6 separate regions of the Homo sapiens genome follow, and regions 1, 2, 3, 4 and 5 are each linked to region 6. Evidence: promoter capture Hi-C in human tissues and cell types (Jung and others, 2019). All regions are on one chromosome and are shown on one strand. Each heading gives the region's core, a stretch centred on a gene start or on the middle of the fragment in contact. The rest is flanking DNA. Distances are from core to core; before and after follow the strand shown. Region 1 overlaps RNF170 (ring finger protein 170). Region 2 overlaps POTEA (POTE ankyrin domain family member A (gene/pseudogene)). Region 3 overlaps HOOK3 (hook microtubule tethering protein 3). Region 4 has its middle 7.0 kb from the start of THAP1. Region 5 has its middle 37 kb from the start of POTEA. Region 6 holds the start of POMK (protein O-mannose kinase).

Region 1 (2,700 bases), core at 45-2,544, 210 kb before region 6:
GGCAGGAGAATGGCGTGAACCCGGGAAGTGGAGCTTGCAGTGAGCCGAGATCACGCCACTGCACTCCAGCCTGGGCAACAGAGTGAGACTCGGTCTCAAAAAAAAAAATAATAATAATAATAGAAAAGGCCCAAGGACAGAGCCCTGCAGCAATATACAATGTCCTTCTATTTGGTGTATATTAAAACATTAGTCAGGAATCCTAAGAACAACCTGCTTAGTGGAGTTCACTTAACTCTGCTATCATCTAGTCATTATTTCCCCCATGATATCCACAGTGTATCACCAGTATCAATCACTCTGGATTATCACTCTATAAAATACCCGATTGAAATCAAGATAATGTTACCCTAATAAGAGACTATCTTGGATCACTGCAACCTCTGCCTCCCAAGTTCAAGTGATTCTCACGCCTCAGCCGCCCAAGTAGCTGGGATTATAGGCACCTGCCACCATGCCCAGCTAATTTTTGTATTTTTAGTAGAGACGAGGGTTTCACCATGTTGGCCAGGCTAGTCTCGAACTCCTGACCTCAGGTGATCCGCCTGCCTCAGCCTCCCAAGGTGCTGGGATTACCGGCGTGAGCCACCACATCCAGCCTAAATTAATTTTAGAATCAGGTGCAGTGGTGCATACCTGTAGTCCCAGCAACCTGGGAAGCTGGGATGGGAGGACTGCTTGAGTCCAGGAGTTCAAGTCCAACTGGGGCAATGTAGCGAGACCCTGTCTCTAAAATAAATAAATAGGCTGGGCATAGTGGCTCATGAGTGTAATCCCAGCACTTTGGGAGGCTGAGTCGGGTGGTTCACTTGAGGTCAGGAGTTTGAGACCAGCCTGGCCAACCTAGCGAAATCCTGTCTCTACAAAAAAATACAAAAAATTAGGGCCAGGTGCAGTGGCTCAAGCCTGTAATCCCAGCACTTTGGGAGGCTGACGCAGGTGGATCACCTCAGGTCAGGAGTTTGAGACCAGCCTGATCAACATGGAGAAACCCCATCTCTACTAAAAATATAAAATAAGCCGGGCATGGTGGCATGTGCCTGTAATCCCAGCTATTTGGGAGGCTGAGGCAGGAGAATCGCTTGAACCCCAGAGGCAGAGGTTGTGGTGAGCTGAGACAGTGCCATGGCACTCCAGCCTGGACGACACATTGAGACTCCGTCTCAAAAAATAAATAAATAAATAAATAAGTAAAAAAATTAATTCTAATATTAGTTCCCTTTTTACTATACAAGTCTTTTTTTGCCTCAATTTTTCCATTTAAAACTGAAAGTATTTTGCACTTATCATCTATATCACCTACAAGTTGATGGATTTAATTATGGAAATTAAAGTTTTTTAAATTGCCATACGCCAATAGAAAGTACTAATATTTTATTCAAAATGTGGATGATAAATTTAATTATTATTTGGTAAGACAGCTGATGACAGGAAATATATGTTAGCATTCAAAGCCCCGTGGAAAATAAAATACCTTAGTAAACATCTACAATCACTGAGATCTGTTACTTGCTGTTCATATTAAGTATTATACATTATTAGGGGTCAAAAAGTCAGCAGCCCTTGCAAATCTACTCAATTCTTTTGTCCTTAAATCTCACCTGAAAAGTGCATATACCAGGGTAGCAATCAAAGCGAAACTGACCACAACTGCCACAAGTACTTGGTCGCTTACTCCTTCTATAACTGAATCATCATCCAGTTTCAAACTTTGAACTTCACCTTGATATTTGGCCATTCCAGGTCTAAAATAAGAAGAAACAAGATGAGAGTTACAAATGACACAGTGAAAATGAAATATACTAATAAAAGCAATGTAAATATAACTGACTTCTAATATATTTGGTTTCTGATAGGCTGCAATTAAGTACAACTCCAGTGGGGACTGATGGAGTTCTTTAAAATTTGCCAGACACATTATTTTGTGGAGAACAAAATTCTATTTCTATTTTTTTTGGATGGAGTCTCTTGCTCTGTTGCCAGGCTGGAGTGCAGTGATGCGGATCTCAGCTCACTGCAACGTCCGCCTCCCGGGTTCAAGCAATTCCCCTCCCTCAGCCTCCCAAGTAGCTGGGACTACAGGCGCGCACCACTACGCCTGGCTAATTTTTTGTATTTTAGTAGAGACAGGGTTTCACCGTGTTAGCCAGGATGGTCTTGATCTCCTGACCTCGTGATCCACCTGCCTCGGCCTCCCAAAGTGCCGGGATTACAGGCATGAGCCACTGCACCCAGCCAAATTCTATTTCTTTTAAGGAAAACAATTACTATAATTTATCATTTATTTATGTATTTTTTAAAAATGTTTTTTCCTCTTCAAGCTTAACCCCTTTAAAAAAAAAAAGCCATTCTTGGGCCAGATGCAGTGGCTCACGCCTGTAATCCCAGCATTATGGGAGGCTGAGGCAGGCGGATCACCTGAGGTCAGAAGTTCGAGACCAGCCTGGTCAACATGGTGAAACCCCGTCTCTACTAAAAATACAAAATTTAGCCGGGTGACGTGTGCCTGTAATGTCAGCTACTCTGGAGGCTAAGGCAGGAGAATCGCTTGAACCTGGGAGGCAGAGGTTGTAGTGAGGCCCAGAGAGCGCCACTGTACTCCAGCCTGGGAGACAGAGCAAGACCCTGTCCCCCGCCCCCCAACCTCCCCACCCCCCAACCAAAAACAATAAATAAATAAAAGCCATTCTTATCCAACTG
Region 2 (2,700 bases), core at 179-2,678, 240 kb after region 6:
ACAAATACTCGTGGGTATATTACATTTGATTGATTCTCACTTAAAAAATGTTTGACAAGGTTCACTCTAACAACTTAGCCTGGTAATTATATGCATAAATTCTTTTGGCTCTTTATAATAAGCTACATTCTTAATATTTTTTCATTTAGGGAGAAAATCCCAATATTGTGGTTATTCACCATTTATTATTTTACTGGTAATCATGATAATTTTAATTATGGTAAAATGCATCAGAGGAATTGCAAACTTTACTGGTATTTTATCTGAAAAATATTAGGGTGGTAAATTTAATGGACTTACAAATTCTTTCCAACGGATTATGAAACTTCAGTATTTGAAATAAAAAAACAGAGTTGGAATTTTTTGCTTGCTGTATAAGAGGTGTACTGATCAGGCACTGTCTGCTCTGATGGAGCAGCTGCTGCTGCTTGGCTGTCTTTCAGAAGCAAGCTGCTCACATTGATATTGGTGGGCAAGCAAGGGCAGCGGTCATTGATCGATTGACTAGATTTAGAACTTGCCCTGGGTGGCTTCTTGTTATCATGGCTACAGGTCAGTTCTTTTCTAAGTTTGTGCTGTTTAAAGGTTGCCTTCCATTAACTATTTTCAAAATGAAACTATTTTATATTCCAGAATTGCATACTTAATTTTAAAGTTTTTTCAAGATGAATTGGTTAATAATAGCTCTCAGGAAGACCTTTTTTTTTTTTTTTTTTTGCTACATAGTCTTGTCTTAACCAGAAGAGTTCTCTGTATAATTTATTTCTTAAAAATAATGGTTTTGTTTTTGTTTTCAGTGTTTTTAGAAGCTTTTGCTCAAGTCCTAACATAAACTCCAATGGGAGATTTTAATCTCTTTGTCAGTTCATGGATGTGTATGATAGTGATATTCTCTCTTTTTAAATTCCTTTTCTTGTTCACTTTCTTCTTTGTACAATAATAGTGATATTCTTGTGCATGTTTACCTCATTAAAAAGTAATTACAATTTTCTGCTGGCAAATCCAGCTTTTTATATTTTGACTAAATAGGAGGCTAAAAGTGAAGAACATTTACCAGATTGTTTTATTTTCAAACAAAATCATAACTAATCAAAAATTGCTATTTTTGAAATATAAATAATGACATTTAGATATTTTAAAAGTAAGGATAGCCCCCGATGTAGGTTGGCTTTGTGTCCCCACCCAAATCTCATGTCAAATTGTGATTCCCAGGTGTTGTGAGAAAGACCTGGTGGGAGGTGATTAGATCATAGGGTTGGTTTCCCCCATGCTGTTCTCATGATAGTGAATGAGTTTTCACAAGAGCTGATGGTTTCTTAAAGGGCTCTATCCCCTTCACTTCTCTCTCTCCTGCCACCTTATGAAGAAGGTGTCTGCTTCCCCTTCACCTTACCATGATTGTAAGTTTTCTGAGGCCTCCCCAGCCATGTGTAACTGTGAATCAATTAAGCTTCTTTCCTTTATGAATTACCCCATCTCAGATATTTCTTTGTAGCAGTGTGAAAATGGACTAATACAGAGAATTGGTACCAGGGATAGTGGGGTATTGTTAAAAAGATAATGTGAAAAGGTGGAAGTGACTTTGGAACTGAGTAACAGAGGTTTTAACAGTTTGGAGGGCTCAAAAGAAGACAGGAAGATGTGGGAAAGTTTGGAACTTCCTACAGACTTGTTGAATAGTTTTTTTTACCAAAATGCTGATAGTGATATGGCCAATGAAGTCCAGGCTGAGGTGATCTTAGGTGGAGATAAGGAACTTGTTGGGGACTGGAACAAAGGTGACTCTTGATATGCTTTAGCAAAGAGACTGACAGCATTTTGCCCCTGCACTAGCAATCTGTAAAACTTTGAACTTGAGAGAGATGATTTAGGCTATCTGGTAGAAGAAATTTCTAAGCAGCAAGGCATTCAAGAGGTGACCTGGTTGATTCTGAAAGCATTCAGTTTTATGCATTCACAAAGAGATGGTTTTAAGCTGGGGCTTATGTTTAAAAGGGAAGCAGAGCATAAATTTGGAAAATTTGTAGCCTGACCATTTGGTAGAAAAGAGAAACAACACATTTTCTATGGACGAATGCAAGTTGGCTGCAGAAATTTGCATAAATAACGAGGAGCGGAATGTTAATTGCCATGAAATGGAGAAAGTGTCTTTAGGGCATGACAGAGATCTTCGTGGCAGCCACTCGCATCACAGGCCCAGAGTCCTGGAAGGAAAAAATGGTTTCATAGGTTTGGGTCCAGGGCCCTGGTACTGTGTGCAGCCTCAGGACTTGCTGCCCTGCATTCAGCCACTACAGGTCCAACTGTGGCTAAAAGGGACCAAGGAGAAACTTAGCCTTTATGAATTACCCAGTCTTCAGTATTTCTTTATAGCAGTGTGAAAATGGACTAATACACCCTCCCTGAAGACATTTTCCTGATTTCGTCTTTCATGTTTTATGTGCCACAGCTACTTTTGAAATTGTATTTAAAGGTAAACATTATTATATTGAATAATAGAAACAGAAATATAGCCCAAATCTAATTGTGATTTTCATGTTTAACAGTCATTTCTCATATTCAGTGGACTCCAGCTTTTTAATATAGCATTCAAGTGTAGTGTAGATTCATCTCCTATTCTTAGCTTCCAAGTATTTTACACTTTTCCTTTCAAGTTCTTAGTAAGCATCTAGACTTCATGTGCTTAATCTTTGTGCTCAC
Region 3 (2,700 bases), core at 118-2,617, 130 kb before region 6:
ACCAGGCCCCACCTCCAACATTTGGGACTACATTTCAACATGAGATTTGGAGGGGATAAATATCCAAACCATATCACTCTGCATAGCACTTTATATTCTGGTTTTTACATGTATTTATTAATTTACTTTCTTGTGCAATGATTTGTTTTTACTTATAATTTGTTTTGAATATATAACACATGAGTAAGAACTTCCCTTTTTTCATCACTGTATCCCTTGCACTTAGAAAACTGCAACCATACCTAGCACATAGTAGGTGAGTGAGTGAATGAGTGGGTGGGTGACTGAGTGAAATGAATCAGTAAGTAGTTTAAAGTTGCAGAGGTGATCAATGAAAGAAGTGAGAACAGTGATTAACTATATTTATGGTAGGAAGGAATGACTCAAGTTGCTATAATCAAACATGTCAGAGGAGAGAGTCACTAGATAATGTCTAAGGTTGATAAGTCAAGAAATAATTGTGTAACATTATTTAGATATGTAAAGTGACAACCAAAAGCAATAAAATTAGGAACCGTAAAAATATTCTCTGGAGAGTGGGAAAACTCCATAGGAAACTAGGTTTTTGTTATAAGCCCCTTTGCTTTGTTATTTTCTTAAATAATCATGTTTATGTTTTGTTTTGTTTTTTGAGACAGGGTCTCACTCTGTCACCCAGGCTAGAGTGCAGTGGTGCAATCTTGGCTCACTGCAACCTCCGCCTCCTGGGCTAAAGCAATCCTCCCACCTCATCCTCCCGAGTAGCAGGGACTGCAAGCGCATGCCACCACACCCAGCTAATTCTTTTATGTTTCGTAGAGTTGGGGTTTTGCCATATTGCCCAGGCTGGTCTTAAACTCCTGAGCTCCGGTGATCTGCCCACCTCCGTCTCCCAAAGTGCTGGGATTACAGGTGTGAGCCACCTCATCTGGCTCATTGTTTTGTTTTTTGAGACAGGGTCATGCTGTGTCATTTAGGCTGAAGTGCAGTGGCATGATCACAGCTTGCTGCACTCAACTTCCTGGGCTTAAGTGATCCTCCCACCTCAGCCTTCCAAATAGCTGGGGCCACAGGTGCCTACCACTAGGCTTGGCTAAAATTTTCATTTCTTTTTTTTTTTTTTTTTTTGGTAGAAATGGGGTCTTGTTATGCTACCCAGGCTGGTCTCAAAACTCCTGGCCCCAAGCAGTCCTACCAACTTGGCCTCCCAAAGTGCTTGGATTAAAGGCGTGACCCACTGCACCTGGCCCGTGTGTTTTTTTTTTTTTTTTTGAAATAGAGTCTTGCTTTGTCGTCCAGGATGGAGTGCAGTGGTGTGATCGTGGCTCACTATAGCCTCGACCTCTTGGACTCGAGTGATCCTCCTGCCTCAGCCTCCCAAGTAGTGGGGACCATAGGCATTCACCACCACACCCAGCTAATTTTTTATTTTTTGTGGAGACAGGGTCTCACTGTGTTGCCCAGGCTGTTCTCCAACTCCTAGCTCAAGTAATCCTCCTCCCTCAGTCTCCCAAAGTGCTAGGATTACAGGCAGGAGCCACCATGCCAGCCATGTTTATGTTTTGAAAATTAGATTCTTTTTGTCTGTGTGTAAAAAGGAGTTCTGCCAAATATATTGACTTTTTTTGGTCTGACTTCTTCTTCTTTTTTTTTTTTTTTTTTTTTTGAGACAAAGTCTCGCTCTTGTCCCCCAGTCTGGAGTGCAATGGCACGATCTTAGCTCACTGCAACTTCTGCCTCCCAGGTTCAAGCTATTCTCTTGCCTCAGCCTCCTGAGTAGCTGGGATTACAGGCGTTTGCCACCACGCCTGGCTAATTTTTGTATTTTTAGTAGAGATGGGGTTTCACCATGTTGGCCAGGCTGGTCTCGAACTCCTGACCTCAGGTGATCCACCCACCTCGGCCTCCCAAAGTGCTGGGATTACAGGTGTGAGCTGCTGCACCCAGCCTTTTGTCTGACTTCTTACGTTATTTTGAGATTCATCTATGTTGTAGCTGTAAATTGTTAATTCTTTCTTATTGCTGAGTAGTAGTACAGGTTGAGTATTCCATATATGAAATTCGGGATATTTTTGGATTTGGGGATATTCGCATTATATGCTTACTGGTTGAGCATCCTAAATCCAAAAATCCAAAAGCTGAAATGGCTCCAATGAACATTTCTTTTGAGTGTCATGTAGGTGCTCAGAAACATTCAGATTTTGAAGCATTTCTGAGTTTGGATTTTTGGATTTGGGATGCAAATCATTTATCCATTTGCTTGTTGGCAAACGTTTGGATTGTTTCCAGTTTTCTTCTATTACAAATGAAGCTGCTATAAACATTGTTCCTAAGTCTTCGTGTGGGCGTATGCTTTTATTTCTCTGAGTAAATACCTAGGAGTAGGATGGCTAAATCAGTCATGTGGTAGTTGCATGTTTAATTCTTTAAGAAATTGCTAAACTATTTTCCAAAATGTTTGAAACATTTTATATTCTCACCACAAGTTTCTTTGCCAACATTTGGTACAGTCAGTCTTTTTAATTTTATTTATTCTAGTGGGAGTGTAGTTATATAATAATGTGATTTTAATTTGCATTTCCTTGATAACTAATGATTATTTATTAGTGTGCTTCTTTGCCATCTCTATATCTTGTCTGGTGAGGTGTTTCTTCAAATATGAAATAAGAATGAATTGTTACTCTTACATCTTGCTCTGCACGTGCAGTATTCCAAAATGAT
Region 4 (2,837 bases), core at 183-2,682, 240 kb before region 6:
CTAAAAATACAAAAAAAAAAAAAAAAAACCCAAAAAATTAGCTGGGCATGGTGGTGGGCACCTGTAGTTCCAGCTACTCAGGAGGCTGAGGCAGGAGAATGGCATGAACCCGGGAGGCGGAGGTTGCAGTGAGCCAAGATAGCGCCACTGCACTCCAGCCTGGGCGACAGAGTGAGACTCTGTCTCAAAAAAAAAATTTTTTTTCCTTTACATTCACAACTTGGCTGTTTGGCACAAGAGGCCTAGCTCTCAGCCTGTCGTGCCTTTCAACATGCCTTCCTCACTACACTTGATCATTTCTACCTTATGATTGAAAGTAAGAATCTTAGCAAGGACTTAGTGGGCATTGGTATGGTTACTAATTGGCCTAATTTCAATGTTGTTGTGTCTCAGGCAATAGGGAGGCCCAAGGAGAGCGAGAGAGACTAGGGAATGGCCAGTCAGTGGTGAGTGAGAACACATACAACTTGTATCAATTAAGCTCACCATAAGTGGGTGCGGTTTGTAGCACTCCAAAACAAAGATCAGTAGTAACATTAAAGATCACTGATCACGGATCACCATAACAGCTATAATAATAATGAGAAAGTTTGCAATATTGCGAGAATTACCAAAATGTGACAGAGACATGACTTGAGTACGTGCTGCTGGAAAAATGGTGCCAATGGACTTGCTCGAAGCCGCGATGCCACAAACATTCAATTTGTAAAAAGTACAATATCTGCAAAAATCAATAAAGCAAATTACAATAAAATGAGGTCTGCCATTACCAAAATGCCAGAATAGTAGTTTATTAGCATTACCATGGATATTGAGACTGCTGGGAATATCTCTGAGGTCCTCTGTGCCTGTGTCTGATAAAGGTCAGAATGGATAACATTGTGAACTGAGAAAGTGTATTTCAACTTAGAGTTCCCTGATATTGTTTTCTCATTCATTGATTCAACAAATAGTTACTGACTATGCTGCACGCATAGTTCTGGGGGCTTGGGATATGTCAGTGAAGGAGATTTCTGCCCTCAGGGAGCTAATGTTCTCAAAGACATTAGGGAGGCAGATAGCAAACACGTGACCACAGAGTATGTTAGCCGGTGAGAGGTGCTCTGTGGGCTGAGGGAGTTGCAAGTTTCCTTATGGTGGACAGGACAGGCCTAACAGAGGAAATGGCTATTGTGCGAAGATCTGGAGTTGGTGAGAGTTGGCTGTGAGGATGCCCGGCGGAGGAGCCTAGCAGTCAGAGGGACTGGCCAGGGCAGAGCTCCTGAGGCTGGGCGTCTTCAGCCTGCTCAAAGGACAGCAAGGAGGGCTGGATGGCTGGAGCAGAGTGAGCTGTGGGGACAAATGTGAGATGAGGTTAGAGAGGAAATGAGCAACCAAGGTCACATGGGGCCTTGCAGGCTGGCGTGAGGACTTTACCTTTACTCTGTGGGAAAGGGAGAGCAGGCTTTCCAGCAGAGTCACACTTGAGATGATCATCGGGCTGCGTTGCATGTAGGGAGCCAGGCACTTGGTGCCTGGGAGACTGCCTGGAAGGTCGCTGTGATCCTTTAGGTGAGAAGTGAGGGTGGCTTAGACCTGGGCGGCAGCCATGACTGAGTAAGAAGTGATCTTTCCTTGTCTTCTGCCCTTTCCTGTCTTTCCCTTGCTTTATTTATTAATCTTTAATGTGTTGAGCACTACTGTGGTGGCAGGCATAATGGTACATCTGTGAATATCTGGGTGGACAAAACTAACATTGTCTCTGTTTTCATAGAGCTTGTGTTCTAGTGAGAAGCAGACAGACAATGGAAATGTCAATATGATGATGCTGTGCTGAGATGTCTGAATGCCTCAGAGTGCCCTGGGGTAAGGGGAGGGGAGGGTCACTGCCTACTTTTGCACTACTTTTGCACTGCCTACTTTTGGGTAGTCTGAGTGAGGAGGGAACATTTAACCTGAGAACCAAAGGATGGAAACACAGTCTAGTAACGTGAAGCATAAACGTGGTGAGGCTGAAGGGAGCATTCGGTCATGGGGTATATGCTGAGGCCCTGACCTGCATCCGACTGTACAGGCAGGAGAGTTCTGTGTGTCCAGGCATGCAACAGCCTCTTGATGGGTCTGCTCACTTGCACGGCTGCTCTTCTCTGATGAACCCTACACACGGTAGTCAGAATGACCTTTTAAAAATGTTTGTTAGATCATGTCTTCCCACTGCACGTAAATCCAAATCAACAGCCTTCCTGCTTCTTCAACCTCACTTCATGCCCTCCTTCCAGCTCCCTGGGCTCTACCACCACAGCCCCCATTGGGCTCCTGGACACACAGAACTCTCCTTGGACTGCGGTGGTGGCAGAGGGTATAGAGTGATAGGATTCGACATGTCAATGGTAGAAATGCCAGGGCTTGTTGATAGATGGTTATAAGAGTAAGAGAGGAGGCTGGGTGCAGTGGCTCACACCTGTAATCTCAGCAATTTGGGAGGCCGGGACTGGCGGATTACCTGAGATCAGGAGTTCCAGACCAGCCTGGCCAGGGTTTAGTAGAAACCCTGTCTCTACTAAAAATAGAAAAATTAGTTGGGTGTGGTGGTGGGCATCTGTAGTCCCAGCTACTCGGGAGACTGAGGCAGGAGAATCGCTTGAGCCCAGGAAGCGGAGGTTGCAGTGAGCCGAGATTGTGCCATTGCACTCCAGCCTGGGTGACAGAGTGAGACTCCGTCTCAAAAAAAAAAAAAAAAGAAAGAAAAAGAAAGAACAAGAGAAGGATTCAGATATTAACACCGAATTAAGCTTGCACCTCTGGCTTGAGCATTTTGAGATGGGATCTCCTGTCACTCAGGCTGGACTGCAGTGGTG
Region 5 (2,763 bases), core at 123-2,622, 160 kb after region 6:
GTGGTTATCTAAATGTGTAATTATGTGTCAAAGTAAATTAGTGCTGCTATCTAAATGACACTTCTGGAAATATTCTTGTAATCTTTGTTGATTACTCAACCCAAGTCTCACTATTAGTCTTTCAAGTGGCTTATGGGCTGGGAAACTAATTTAGCCATATACCATGTGATCTTCTGAACCAGATAAGCATAAAGAAAATTGCTAAAGAAATAAGCTCTAGATTCTTTTTTCTGTATTCATTTAAAGACGAATTACATTTATTTAAATGATAAAATGGTAATACAGTGGGAGGGAAGCAATGACTGAGAAGAGACATAAAAATATATCTTGCCTTGAGAGTTGCAACAAATATTCCCATCCAAAGAAGTCTGTTTAATGTGCTTTCATGCATGCAAGTTTATCTGTTTGACTCAAACTGTTTAAACTTATTATTCCATCATGGTCATTTTAAATATTTTTGGAAACAAATACATATACTTTCACATATTAAAAAAAATCACCACTCTCCAATGTTTCTGTTGAATCAGAATTTACGTTATGTTGTTTATTAAAATATGTTAAGTTTTGACATGTATGATTTTGTCATATAAGTAGCATAACCCCTCAGCCAAAAATTTAGCATTTGATTCTTTAGTTGAAAGCTGAGTTCTGTACATTTTGTTCTAAAGATAGACAAAAATCTAGAGATTTTCTTTTTTCAAAGTAAAAGCAGATGAGGCCTCCCACTACCCTCGGAGGCATGATCTAGGAGACAGCAGAAAGCAGTTTCAATTCTAGTCATATTTCTAGCTCTAGCTCTACATGCAAGTACCTCTGAGAAGTATTTTCATTGGCCTATACACAATGAGGATACTGATACATGTATATTATAAAATAAAAATGTGAAATACAGATGTAGCTAACATTTTACAACTGAAGCATTCTTCTAGTCACTGGTAAATGAAAACACCTTAACTAAATCATATGGCAACTACATGTGTGAAGCTTACTAAATAAATTGTTTCATAAGGCATTTTTTATAGAGAAGTATTTATTCTCCCCAGTCATTCCCTGCTTACTCCACTTTCTATTGGGCTTTTTGCATGTCAAATTTGAAAACATGAACAAACAAAATAAAGTGAACATGGTAGTTTATTATTATGAAAGTAATTGTAATGTATAAGTTAGATGTCCCTGTGCTATTGACAAAATTCTCTAAAAACCTTTTGAATAAATGTGACAAAGACTACCTAAGTTGATGTCCACAATTTGAGAGAAAAGAAAGACAAAAACAGTCCTTGAGGACTCAGATGCCTCAGGAAGATTTAAGAAGTTTTTATACTTTGATGGAGCTTTTAAGAAAAATTCATCTATTTTTTTCCTTGCTCTGGTCACATACTGAGAGGACTTACAGACTGCTTACTTAATAGTATGGATTTGTATTTTTCTTAGAGTAAAGTAGCATCCTGATTTTGAAATAGTTCCTGTAGTTTGTTTAAAGAAAGCAGGAAAGAAACAAAACAAGAAAAAAAGGAAAGAAGGAAGAAAAAAAGAAAGTGAGGAAGGAAGAAGGGAAGGAAGAAAAAATATGGAAGAAAGGAAGAATTTCTTTTAGAGTAGTGGAAAGCTGTCAAAATCTGCTTAAGAAAACCGTTTGTATAAAATGTTTTGTCTTGCCCTCCAAAGCTCAAAGTCTCTGGTCCTGCTGATGGCTTTCCTATCTAGAATATACAGATCTTCCACAAATTGAAAAACTAAAATATAGAAATATATTTTGTACAGGTGGCGGATTTGAAATGTTTTATCAAGGCTAAAACAGGATGTATATCATTATAATACTTTTCCTTCACATTCTGCTCTGAATTTGCTCAGTCAGCACCATTCCACTTAATAAGGCTTAGATCAAATCAAATCAAACTTTGATTTGAATATTACAGAAGAGAACACATGGTAGGAGCTTGTATATTCTCTGTCTCTCTTACTCTCTCTCATGTCTGAGAGAGAATACCTTGGGGTTGACCAGCTAGACAGTTTATGAGAAGGTAGTATCTCCCTGTTTTCATTCTCCAGGAATACTGAACAGTGTATTATTGAATTATATTTGATTAAAATATACTGATGGAAAAGAGCACTTCAGAGTGTCCAAAATGGAAGTAAATGTAAATCTTTTTATAATTTATAAATACCAAGTTTATAAAACGAATCTTCTCTTGTAGATTTGTAGATTGTAGATTTCTGCTCATAGCAGAAAGCAGAGGCCAAGATAATTTTAAATTATCTTACTTTTAAAAATATAATTATTTTCTAAAGTGAACTTAAAGCAAAATCTAAATACAGAAAAATGCCTGATTACAAGGGTGCAGCTCAAAGAGCTTTTACAGAGTTAGGCACCTGTGAAAGCAGCACAGATTAAGAAACAGCACTGAGCCTCCCCACCCAACTCATCGCCGTGTCTCTCCATAGCTACATCCTAACTTCTAATTAGATTTCTAGATTGGATTTCTCAGGCTTTGAGTTTCTCACAAGTGGGGTGATACAGTAAGTTTTCTTTTGTGCCTTCTTTTTACAAATGATTTTTTGTGAAATTCATTCATGTTGTTATGAATAGTTACAGGTCATTCATTTTCATAGCTTTATTGCAGTCCATGTGAATATAGATACTTTGTTTATCCATTTTCCTATTTACAGACCTTTGAGGAGTTTCTGGAGTAGGGTTGATGCTAATTGTGCTGCAATAATAATATTTAACATTTTTTGGAAACATGTACACATTTTTAGGGCATA
Region 6 (2,700 bases), core at 179-2,678:
GTGTATATTCACACTGTTGTGCAACCATCACCCCCATCCATCTCCAGGACTTTACCATCTTCTCACACTGAAACTGTGCACCCGTTAGTATTTTTCATGGCTATGTGGATGTAATATAATTTCTTTCAGAAACCCCTATTGTTATACATTCAGGTTTCTTTTTTTCTCTATTATAAATATCTTTTATCAGCAATGCTTCAGCAAGATCTCTTGTGCATACATCTTGCAGACATATTATTTCTTTTTCTTTTTTTTTTTTTTTTTTTTTGAGACGGAGTCTCGCTCTGTCACCCAGGCTGGAGTACAGTGGCGCGATCTCGGCTCACTGCAAGCTCCGCCTCCCGGGTTCACGCCATTCTCACGCCCGCCACCATGCCCGGCTAATTTTTTGTATTTTTAGTAGAGACGGGGTTTCACCGTGTTATCCAGGATGGTCTCGGTCTCCTGACCTCGTGATCCGCCCACCTCGGCCTCCCAAAGTCCTGGGATTACAGGCATGAGCCACGGCGCCCGGCCACAGACGTTATTTCTGAAGGATAAATTCCTAGAAATGGATTTGCTAGGGCACGTAGGAGGAATTCCAATTTACACTCACTTGTATGTGTGAGGAAACTTTCAGACTCTACTGTAACGACAGGAGGTATTACCGCTGTTTGTCCATGTGATAGGCAAACGTTTCTGTTAATTTTAATACTGTTTGGATAGCTAGTACCGGCTCAGTTTTTTTAACCCACACCATGTTACTGTCTTGATTCTGGACTTTCGCAGTGTGTCAGTGTAGAAGCAGCTAACGCTTCCGATGTACACAACCTAGACGTTCCATGACCCAGCTGACTTCGATGCTGCAAGCCTCCCTTTCGGTTTCCCGGAGCAAGCGCCCGAGTGCGTGTTGGGCTCCCGGCAGGGCTCCTGGCCGGCCCTCGACGGACTTCCCCGCCTTTGCCCAGTCCTGCCCCTCCGCGGAGGCTTGCCAAGGTCTTGTCTGCTGCGCTTGATGTGTGCAGCTCAGCTTTACTGCGTCTAGGCTAAGCCCCACAGTTTCTTTTACAGAGCGATTGTCCAACTTCAGGCATCTGGGTCCCCGAGTGGCGGGTCTGGGCCGGAGCTGGGAATCAGCCTTTCCAGCAAGGTCCCTGCAGATGCCGCGGGTCTGAGGACTACGCTTTGGAAGGCCTCGCAGTGCGTCTAGATCTGACAGCTGCTCTGCATGAGCCTGGCTCCAGGCTGAAGCAATAGTCGGTCAACACAAAATCGTTCTCCCAAGTTAGGGAAGCAGAAGCCAGACAGGGAGACTGGGTAGGTGCGCGCTGGTACCGCCGCGGCGTTCGCTCCGGCTTCAGTGCACGGCCGGAGGAGGACGCCAGGGGGCAGCAGCGCCACGCTCACCCGCCCAGGACGCGCTTCCGAACGCGCAAGCGCAGTAGGCCCAGTGCGTGCTGGCCCGGGGTGGCAGGAGCCGCAGAGGCTTGGGCTGCAGGTAGGTGCTGCGGCGAGGGGTGAGAGGGCGAAGGGGCGAGGGGGCGTGCAGCTGGGTTTCCCGGGGGACCCTGTACGTGGCCTGGGCCGCACCCCCCGCAGCCCCGGCCGCCTGCCCGCGGCCTGTCCGGAGGCTCCCTAGGAGGCTGCGCTGGGCCTGAGCGGCCGTGTCCACCGCGCCCAGCCCCTATCTCCGCGTCCACCCCTGCGCGGTAGCGGGACGTTAAAGAACCAGAGAAGGGCCCGGCGAGGTGGCTCCAGCCTGTAATCCCAGCGCTTTGGGAGGCCGAGGCGGGAGGATCGCGTGAGCTCAGGCGAGAGCAGCCTGGGCAACATGGCGGAACTTCTGTCTCCGTAAAAAAGCACTTAGCCGGGCGCGGTGGCGCCGCCTATAGTCTTATCTACTCCGGAGGCTGAGGCGGGAGAATGCTTGAACCCGGCGGGGGCGGAGGTTTCAGTGAGCCGAAATCGCGCCACTGCACTTCAGCCTGGGGGCCAGAGTGAGAGGCTGTTTCTATTATTATTACTTTATCATTATTATTATTATTTGAGACGGAGTCTCGCTCTGTCGCCCAGGCTGGAGTGTAGTGGCGCGGTCTTGGCTCCTGGGATTACAGGCGTCCGCCACCACGCCCGGCTAATTTTTGTATTTTTAGTAGAAACGGGGTTTCCCCATGTTGGTCAGGCTGGTCTCGAACGCCTGACCTCAGGTGATCCGCCCGCCTCTGCCTCCCAAAGTGCTGGGATTACAGGCGTGAGCTACTGGGTCCGGCAGAGGCTGTCTCTGTTTAAAAAAACAAAAACCAAACCAAACCAAAACAAAACAAAAAACAAAAAAACCAGAAAGGACCGAGGACTCTGTCTCAGCTCTTTGCCTTTGGGTGTTTATTCTGCACGAGATCATTGTTGCCAGGAGGTGTTAAGTGTAATCATATTCTCTTTTTTTTAGAAAGCAAAATTTCGCTGTTTTGTTGCATAATCTTGTCTTTGCCACCCTTTGCCTTTGCTATAGAACCTTAAGGCTAAATAAGCGTTCAGAATATTTAAAATAATCCTCTTAATGTACCTTGTGCTTTATTGGCGCAATGGAATTCTACTCTAAACTGTATTGGATGACATTACTCTGTGTCTTCCCTAGTTGTAGAAAATATCTTGTAAGTCGGTAAAAACTAGTTTTGTCCCTTTGCTTTTCTTTTCTTTTTAAGCTGTAAATGTGGAGCAGTG

What was found. Contacts are between HindIII fragments. The study calls those that stand out against the background at their distance.
Region 1: a fragment that was not itself captured here is called in contact with the fragment with the promoter of POMK in region 6 in 1 of the 25 tissues and cell types used here (hippocampus).
Region 2: a fragment that was not itself captured here is called in contact with the fragment with the promoter of POMK in region 6 in 2 of the 25 tissues and cell types used here (lymphoblastoid cells and mesenchymal stem cells).
Region 3: a fragment that was not itself captured here is called in contact with the fragment with the promoter of POMK in region 6 in 2 of the 25 tissues and cell types used here (aorta and mesendoderm cells).
Region 4: a contact is called between a fragment that was not itself captured here and the fragment with the promoter of POMK in region 6, in 1 of the 25 tissues and cell types used here (spleen).
Region 5: a fragment that was not itself captured here is called in contact with the fragment with the promoter of POMK in region 6 in 1 of the 25 tissues and cell types used here (lymphoblastoid cells).

Annotation. Positions count from the first base shown.
Region 1 is chr8:42,886,127-42,888,826 of GRCh38, forward strand. It overlaps RNF170 (ring finger protein 170), which reads right to left. Exons shown (of 7, transcript NM_030954.4): 2 at 1,602-1,745. The coding sequence starts at 1,738. Among named protein-coding and RNA genes, the nearest start is that of MIR4469, 8.8 kb to the right of the region's middle. The HindIII fragment of the contact is 7,579 bases long and covers 1-2,700 here.
Region 2 is chr8:43,335,568-43,338,267 of GRCh38, forward strand. The region is part of intron 9 of POTEA (POTE ankyrin domain family member A (gene/pseudogene)); the gene reads left to right. Among named protein-coding and RNA genes, the nearest start is that of POTEA, 44 kb to the left of the region's middle. The HindIII fragment of the contact is 4,537 bases long and covers 1-2,700 here.
Region 3 is chr8:42,961,174-42,963,873 of GRCh38, forward strand. The region is part of intron 8 of HOOK3 (hook microtubule tethering protein 3); the gene reads left to right. Among named protein-coding and RNA genes, the nearest start is that of HOOK3, 66 kb to the left of the region's middle. The HindIII fragment of the contact is 8,862 bases long and covers 1-2,700 here.
Region 4 is chr8:42,848,862-42,851,698 of GRCh38, forward strand. It overlaps a transcript of RNF170 not described here. Among named protein-coding and RNA genes, the nearest start is that of THAP1, 7.0 kb to the left of the region's middle. The HindIII fragment of the contact is 4,868 bases long and covers 1-2,837 here.
Region 5 is chr8:43,254,181-43,256,943 of GRCh38, forward strand. It overlaps the pseudogene AFG3L2P1. Among named protein-coding and RNA genes, the nearest start is that of POTEA, 37 kb to the right of the region's middle. The HindIII fragment of the contact is 6,739 bases long and covers 1-2,763 here.
Region 6 is chr8:43,092,087-43,094,786 of GRCh38, forward strand. It overlaps POMK (protein O-mannose kinase), which reads left to right and starts at 1,429. Exons shown (of 5, transcript NM_032237.5): 1 at 1,429-1,477. RefSeq lists enhancers at 393-1,299, 1,300-2,205 and a silencer at 1,457-1,666. The HindIII fragment of the contact is 5,704 bases long and covers 1-2,700 here.